Regions from separate parts of the Homo sapiens genome. Here all the other regions are linked to region 1. Evidence: promoter capture Hi-C in 16 types of primary human blood cells and fetal thymus (Javierre and others, 2016). All regions are on one chromosome and are shown on one strand. The core of a region is centred on a gene start or on the middle of the fragment in contact, and the rest is flanking DNA. Distances in the headings are between cores, read along the strand shown.

What was found. The method cuts DNA at HindIII sites, captures the fragments that hold promoters and counts their contacts. A CHiCAGO score of 5 or more calls a contact.
Region 2: a contact is called between the fragment with the promoter of LRRC1 here and the fragment with the promoter of CENPQ in region 1, in 1 of 17 cell types (total B cells). The highest score is 6.5, in total B cells.
Region 3: the fragment with the promoter of TRAM2 here is called in contact with the fragment with the promoter of CENPQ in region 1 in 2 of 17 cell types (total B cells and non-activated CD4 T cells); the score reaches 13.0 in total B cells.

The regions. Positions count from the first base shown.
Region 1 is chr6:49,462,074-49,464,722 of GRCh38, reverse strand. It overlaps CENPQ (centromere protein Q), which reads right to left and starts at 1,353. Exons shown (of 9, transcript NM_018132.4): 1 at 1,270-1,353. It overlaps MMUT (methylmalonyl-CoA mutase), which reads left to right and starts at 1,470. Exons shown (of 13, transcript NM_000255.4): 1 at 1,470-1,620. RefSeq lists enhancers at 487-1,386, 1,731-1,800, 1,387-2,287. The HindIII fragment of the contact is 2,856 bases long and covers 1-2,142 here.
Region 2 is chr6:53,793,659-53,796,307 of GRCh38, reverse strand. LRRC1 (leucine rich repeat containing 1) reads right to left here and starts at 1,303. Exons shown (of 14, transcript NM_018214.5): 1 at 893-1,303. The coding sequence starts at 1,051. It overlaps LOC124901333 (a long non-coding RNA gene), which reads left to right and starts at 2,633. Exons shown (of 5, transcript XR_007059619.1): 1 at 2,633-2,649. RefSeq lists an enhancer at 519-1,231 and silencers at 1,198-1,437, 2,483-2,612. The HindIII fragment of the contact is 4,441 bases long and covers 1-2,649 here.
Region 3 is chr6:52,575,661-52,578,309 of GRCh38, reverse strand. TRAM2 (translocation associated membrane protein 2) reads left to right here and starts at 1,250. Exons shown (of 11, transcript NM_012288.4): 1 at 1,250-1,514. The coding sequence starts at 1,395. TRAM2-AS1 (TRAM2 antisense RNA 1) reads right to left here and starts at 1,108. Exons shown (of 3, transcript NR_103446.1): 1 at 1-1,108. RefSeq lists a silencer at 678-1,537. The HindIII fragment of the contact is 3,868 bases long and covers 1-2,446 here.

The sequences.
Region 1 (2,649 bases), core at 104-2,603:
GAAAAGAAGTTGCTTCTTATGAATGAGCGAAGTTCTTGAGATGGAATCTACCCCTGGTGAAGATGCTGTGAATATTCTTGAAATATCAACAAAGAATTCAGAATATCACAAAACCTTAGTTGCTAAAGCAATGGTAGGGGTTAAGAGGATTTACTCTAATTTTGAAAGAAGTTCTACAGTGGGTAAAATGCTTTCAAACAGCATCACATGCTACAGAGAAATCTTTAGTGAATGGAAGAGTCAACTGCTGTACAAAATTCATTATTTTGTTATTTTAAGAAACTGCCACAGCAACTCCAATCTTCAGCAACCATCACCCTGATTGGTCAACAGCCATCAACATCAAGCAAGACCCTCCACCAGCAAAAAGATTAGGACTTGCTGAAGGCTGAGATGATTAGTAGCATTTTTTAGCAATAAAATATTTTAAAATTACAGCATGTAATTTTTTTTTACACATAATGCTATTGCACACTTAATAGGTTACAATACAGTGTAAATACAACTGTTATATGCACTGGGAAACCAAAAAAATCGTGTGACAGGCTTTATTGGTCTGGAACCGACCCCGCAATATCTCGGAAGTATGTTTGTACATTATTCATAGAAAAAGTATTATTCTAATAACATTTTGAAATATTTAGCCAAAAAGTAGAAAAATGAAGCATCCAAGGGAAAACAGTAAAACTCGGACGGCAGGAAAGCTCGGAAAAAACACAAAAAACCTGGCGTGTTCAGGGACAGGATAATCCAGCGAGGCTTTTAATGTGTATAGGAGAAGTGAAAAGAAATAAGGCTGGTACAGTAGTTTGCCGCCAGACTATATGCTTTAGGAGAGAGGGAGGCATTCTAGGTTGTCTTGTTTTTCTTACCAGCTTGTTGATACTCATGGGACTCAATTACCTCAATTTAGACCTCTATGTGGGCACAAGAGTGAGTAGGACTCCTGGAGAAACACAGACACTAATGTCCAAGGCTGCACTTGACTTCACTAGTGCCCGCGGGAGAAATTTAGCAATGAGGATGAGCCATGAGGATGATTCGGGAGAAATAGGAAGTATTCATGGCTTTGCTCCCTCCCCCCTAATCAAACATCTCAATCTCAGGATCCTAAGGGCAGATCTTTTAGGACATCGGGCATTTCCCCGTAAGCAATCCCCCCTCGCTATCCTCAAATGCAAACTGCGGAGTCTGCCACAAACGCGTTGGCTTTAAAACTCATCCCTGAACTTTAGATCCACCCAGCCGGTTAAGGATATCACGACTCACCACTGATTCTTCTTGCACCCTTCTGAGAGCCGCGCTTAGAGTAATTCGCGCCCAAACATTCGTAAACAGAGGAGACCCGGAAGTGGGTGGGAAGAAAGCGGAAACGGGCATCTAACCCTACCCCTAAACGTCATCAGGAATGCGCCCATGAGAGCGCTATTAGATTGGCTGGAGGGAGGGCGGTGTCGGCCTACGCCCCCAGAGTCGTCCGGCTGACGCTGGCGGTGGCGCGGTTTGTGTGGGCTTGGTGAGGGCGGGGAGGCCTGGCTGTGTGGATGTCTGACAGGTGAGGCGGGGGACGCAGAAGTGCAGCCGCCCTCTCCCACAGCGGAGTCCAAAACAGGCCTACCAGTGAGTAGGACGTACACCTTTCAGATCGCTCCATTCTTCTGGCTCCTGTCCCTCCTCTACCCCTGTATTTTGAACTTTTGTCCTTTCTCTCCCGCTCTGTCCTTTACTTCTGTCTTCTTTACCTTCCTACTGTGACGGGATCCCACTCTCTGCCTTCTCCTTAGGTTTAGATTTTCACTTCGACCAACCTCTAGTTTTGGGCGAAGTCCCTGGCAATTCGGAGGTACTTCTGGAAAGAAGGTGCTTTTAATACTTTAGGGGCCATGTCGGTATCTTCTTTGGCCACTTAAGCACCCTGAACTGTTCCCGTTGGCAGAGGTCACTTTTTGTATGGTTCCAAAGGGATGCGCCTGCTTCATGGCTGCCTCCCTTCTAGGTTGTGGGTTATGTTATTGTCAGGGTTTTTCTAAGAGTTTTCGGGAATAAAAGTGATTTTCTGTGTGTAAACAGGATTAAGAGTGTAAACAGTGTTAAGAGTGAGAGGTAGAATAGAAAAGACAGGTCTAAATTGACATAAAAGCTTACATTACTAACTCGTTCTCAGTTTTATCTAGAAAGAAGGTGGTCTTAGGGAAGCTCGAAGCCCTGGATAACGTATGTGTGTAAAGTTTTAAACCACTTGATGATTTTCTGCCAATATAATTTTGTGTTTAATGATGTACTTATGCTAATATCAAATATAATTTTCATGCCCTATGTTTCCATCTCCAAACCCAACTAGTTGAACATCAAAGTACCTTCTTGAAGTATTAATGTGCAATCATACGTCAGCAGCCAAAGCTTGAAACTTATTGGTTCAAGAAATCTTTTTCTCACTGATTTGTTTTTGAGGTGTGGGGGTGGGATTAATCATTGCTCTTTAACTCATTTTAGTTGTCAGTAACATATTTGCTTTGCATGTTGCTTCTTTGAATGCTTGAGGCCTCTCTTGATGGTCTTCTGAGAAAATTCAGAGGTCGTATTGCCATCCGCAGTAGTTGTGTTTTTATCTAAAAATGGTGTCTGTTTCCAGCCTCCACCAATTCACAT
Region 2 (2,649 bases), core at 54-2,553, 4.3 Mb before region 1:
CTGTACCCCTACTCTCGGTCAAAGCACCATCAGCACATGTCGCTTGACAAGTTCGGCGGCAATGGAGTGATCAATTTACATAAACAACTCTGAAGAGATAACGCATCACTGCAAGGAGAGAAAGTCAGCAGGACGACTGTGCCCGCTCCGGGAAAGGCGGCTGCAAGGCTGGCCCGCGGGCAGAGCCTCCGCTGACGTTCACCGCAGCTCCCACCACGCAACAGGTCCACGTAGGCAAGGCCCGGGCGGCCGGCATCTGGGCACCTGCCCCTAGCGCTCCAGGCCCAGCTCTCCCCTGCGCCCATCTCGCGTCCACCCCCGCAGCCACCGCAGGCCAGCCGGCCAAGCCCACCCGCGATAAAGCACGGAGCACATTCCTCATTCCTCCCAAGATGCCGAGATAGTGCGGCCCGCTTGAGCGCTGCCCAGGTCACAAGGTCCTCCGGGACATGCCTTGACTAAAGGAGAGGCGCGCCCGGCCCTTGGTGGGGGAACGACCCCGGGGAGTGGAGGGGGGGAGGATGCAGTGCTCTGTAGCTTCCAGATGGAAACAGCCCGAATCACCCGGCTTCTCACCTGACCGGGCACAAGTGCCAGGTGTCAGTACCTAGCATGGATCTAAGTTACTTAACAGTCCAGAACGCTTCTCCAATAGCACGAGCCCCAGTGACTACGCGCAAAATATCCGGTCACTTTGAATAAAATGAAAAGGAACTTTTACTGGGAAAGGATGGAAGTAAAGAGACAGGGGGAGAAAGAAGCAGGTGAATGCATAAAAGAGGGAAGGTTCCTTCACGCCGGACCCGGAGATGGAAGAGGGGACGAGAGAGGATGGGAGCGGAAGGGACAGCAGACGAGCGGGCAGAGCGCTCAGGTGAGGCCGGACCCTTACCTCGGGCAGCTCGCGGAGCTGGTTGGCGTCCAGCAGCAGCTCCTCCAGGCTCCGGGCATAGCGGTAGATCTCCTCGGGGACGTAGACCAGCGAGCAGTGGCGCTTGTCGATGCTCTCCACATGACGGTTGCACCGCCACAGGGGGATGCAGTGGAACATCGCCGCCCCCGCCGCCGCCTAGCCGGGTCCCGAGCGGCGGAGACCCGGGCTCCGAGCCCGCTCTGGCCGGCGGCTCCGCTCAGTCCGCTGCCCTCTCCGCGCTCGTTGTTGGCTCTTGGGTTAGCTCGCTTCTCGCGCCGGGCTTCGCGGTCGGAAGTGCTTCAAGGAACCTGGAGCGGGAGCCCCTGCCCCGTCCCTGTACCCCCGCCCGCCAGCCGGTGCCTCCACTCCCACCCGCCAGTCGCCGTCGCCGCCCCCGCCGCCGCGCGGAGCTTCCTACTCGCAGCCGCCGCGCGGACTGAGCATGCGCGCCAGTGGGTGCGCGCCGAGGGCGTTTCCCGGCCCGAGGGATGCTCCGCTCCGGGTTTTCCCGGCGACCTGCATCCAGAGAGGGTCGACTGACCTGCGGGCCGGCTGCTGGCGGTCTGCTTACTCCGGCAAAGACGGGGGCGCATCGGGCCGTTTGAGGAAGGCAGACTGTGAAAGGACTTGGGACAAAGATGAGGCGGAGTAGAGGCGGCCTGAGCAGAGCAGAACAACTTTGATATTTAGTTTTATTTAACTCGCACTCCTCTCCTTGCTCCCCTTCCCCAAAACAACTTTCTCTTCCGGGGTCACACAGGACCGCCCCAAAGCGTACCTTGCGCGCCGGGGGCGCCAGGCGCTACTGGATTCGGTGTAGTTTTGAGGTGTTTGCACCACCCTCGCTGCTGCTTTCGTGGCTGCCCGTGTGCCCGCTGCTCACGGCTGCCCCAGAAGTGTGAGCTGGCCGCGCCCGGCCCTCTGGTCCTCGGGCACCGCCTGCAGGCTTTGTAACTTGGGAGCACATCTCTGGTGATCATGGTTTATGCAGTGAGTGATAGTAAATCCTCCTCCCTGTACCAGCAAAGGCATAGGAGTCTGAGAGTCTGCGAGATTCTCATAGATGTGGTTGCACCTGGCAAGGAGCCCAGCTGCAGAAATAAGCAGGCAAACGCGAGTTTCTGAGCCAGTTCCAGCCCGGCCCAGATGTTGGCCCCTGACAACTAGCTGTGGCTGGTGCGGAGGGAGGAGCGAGGGAAGAGGGGCAGATCGAGGCTGCCAGGTGAGCATCCTCCATACAGCTCCTGCTTTTCTGCTACAACCCCAGTCCCGTCCAGCCCGGATGACCGGGGAGGCTCACTATTGGGTTATAACAACCATTCCCTCGCCCCGACTCATTCCTGCGGACCACGGCCGGAATCCTGAACTGCCCCTCTTTGCCTGTAACTGTTTGCAACACAGTCCCCATCTCCGAATAACCAAATTTTCTCCTTTAATGAAGGGTTGCTAAAGTCAAGGTCAATCACAATGATGAATCATTTCCTTGGGGGCTTCTCTGATTCCCCACCCGGCCGCCCCTTCGTTCCACACTTTCCCTTTCAAGCATACTCAAACTCCAGGTTTCCACCTGCGGCCGCTGCCACGCTGGCTCTCCCACACTCACTCCCGCCCTCCAGCTGCTATAGCTAAAATCTGGAGCCACGGAGTTCACTTTTCTATAGAAGACAAAGCTGAGCATGCTCAGTGGCCAAGGCAAAGTTTGGTCGGAAACTAGTTTTTGCATTAGACTCTCCATG
Region 3 (2,649 bases), core at 1-2,500, 3.1 Mb before region 1:
GTTCCTCACAAGACGAAGGTTCAACTTTGAGAAAGGTCAGCCTTGAAGTTAAATGAGGTTTAGTCCAATCTAGGCATTACTTTGTCATTTCCTTGAGAGTCAGATAAGGGAATTACAGACCCAAGACTGTATTTTAAGTAAGGTGGAGTGCAGATTGAGGAAGTAAAATTTCTCTAGGAACTCCATCCTGTCTCAATTACATTCCACCGCGTGCCACTTTTAAAAAACCATATTTATTTAGAAGTGAAATAACTGTGGACCTAATAAAAAATGGAATAGGAATTAGTTTTTTTTGTTCATTACGTATTTCTGCACATCTAGAAAGTAACTGACTGCTTCATTACTGGTAGGATTAAATCCAATATTTGCGAATATAATTTATTAAGAACACCTTTTGTCCTTCCAGGAGTACTTTTAAGACTTAATATTAAATAGAAACTTTCAGTGAGAAAGTTCCTTCCTTTTTTGCTTCTTCTGTGTTTATTCTTCCACTTCTTCTGATTAATATGTAAGGTAGACTTTCGGTGAAATGTGTGTAGCTAATTAATGGTGGCATGAGGGTCCCAAAAATTACTGGGCAAAACTGCAATCATCCACCCTCTCCCCGCATTGGAGCGAAAGCTCCCCTAGGGCAGGGTCTTTCGGTTTGTTGATCTACCTGAACTGTGCCTAGCCCACTGCAAGTTCTCGATAAATACTTGAGTAATCTCCATTCACTGATCGTCCGTGCAGGGCGCTGTGGCCAGCCAGAAGGCCGGTTCGCGGCTTCCCTGCTTCCGCCGCACCCGCGCCGCCCTCAGCCCCCGGGGCCACAGCCCGCAACCCCGGGAGCATCCGGCTGCCCGGCCACCCCCGGGGCGCTCGCTGCCTCCGGGGCCTGCCCTTCCCGCGGAGGAAGGAGCGGAGCGAGGAGTGGGAAAGCTGGGCCCACTTCCTGTCCGGGCAGGCCTGGGCGCCCGCCTCCTCCGCGGCCTGCTTTCTCCACCGCGAGCGGCTGAGCCTCGGGCCCCGAGAATGCGGCCGGGCGCGGCGCTGGCGCGGGACGAGGAGGAGCCGAGCCCCGCTCGCCGCCCCCGTACGCCTCCGCCCCGGTAGCCCGCGCGTGCCCAGCGGCTAGAGGGTTAAGCCCGCGGGGGGCGGGGCCAGGCGCGCCGAGTGCGGGCCGCGGGCTGGGCGGGGGCTGGGCGGGGGCTGCGGCCGGGGGCGGTTACGGGCGGCCGGGGGCGGGCGGAGGAAGGGGGCGGGCCCCGAAGTTGTTCCGCGCTGGGCGGGCGAGCGGCTGTGGGAGAGCGGGCGGCGGGCCGGCGGGCGGACCGGGCCGGTGCTGGAGAAGTTTGCGCTGCGGTTCGTGAGCGCAGGGTGCGGGCCCCGCCGGCCGCTGCGCGCCCGCTGCCATGGCTTTCCGCAGGAGGACGAAAAGTTACCCGCTCTTCAGCCAGGAGTTCGTCATCCACAACCATGCGGACATCGGCTTCTGCCTGGTGCTCTGCGTCCTCATCGGGCTTATGTTCGAGGTGAGAGCCTGGGGAGGAGGGAGCTGGAGGGACAGTGCCCCCTGTCGTGCACCGCCCGGCACACCCCTGCAGGTCAGCGGGCCCTCCTCTGATCGGAGGCTCCTGGCTGCCGTGTACGTTATCTGCACCCCGGCTTTGTGCACTGTACCCCTCCGGCCTGTACCCCGGCCAGCCCAGACAGCACCCCCAGCTCCGCGCCGTGCCAGCCATGCCATGCTCTGCCGCCCCCTTGGGCACTCATCGTATCCTGCAGCTCTGTCTGCAGCCCTGAAACCCCAGCCTGGCCTCGAACCAACCGCCGCGCTGCCACCATGGCTTGACGCGTGGGGTTCCCTTTCTGGCGTCCAGGAGCCAAGCCCAGAGACTCCCAGACCCGCAGTCATTGCACAACCCCCTCTTGCCCCAAGGGGTGGCCACTAGCTCTTCTGGGCTTTTCCAGTGGGAGAGACCCAGAACCTTTTCCACTTCCTATGTGATTTTCTGGGTGTTTTGCATCTCAGCTCTGGAACGTGCTCGGATGTTCACGTGTGGCCCTGGCCCCATCCCAGCAGTGGCCTTCTGCTCTCGTCTCGCTCCCACTTTTTTGCTGTGCTCTAGAAGGCCAATTTTTGGATATCCTTTACCACTCCGTGAACTGTCCCTTTAGATCCATCTGCGGCGACCCAGAGCTTCACCCCCTTTACAGAGACAAGAAGAGAGACAGGGATACCCTCCACTTTTTGGGGAAAGTTGATTCTCTTATAGTGTAGGAGTGGGGGGCAGAGGATGGGGATCCCACCCCCAACAGCAATGTCCTGGTGTCGGCCTCCCAGGCAGGGAGTTGTAGAAAGCCAGCAAGGGGTCAGAATTCACAAGACTGATGGGAAGGATTCCCTACTCTTGCAGAGCAAGAAAAATGTGATATTCAAAAGTGGGAAGAACTGGAGGAAGCTTGGCATGGGTTTGTTGCGGTATATCTTGTCTCAGAAGTGAGATATGTGAGCGACATTCCCCTCACTCTCACCGTGGTCTCCTCTGGTTCCTGAGACTCCTTGTCCTCCCTTCTGCGTCAGCTTGCTTATTGCATTCTCACGGTTGGGTTAGGAAGCTGTGATCATTTACAAACTTCCTTGGAGATGGAGGATGGCTTGCCTGG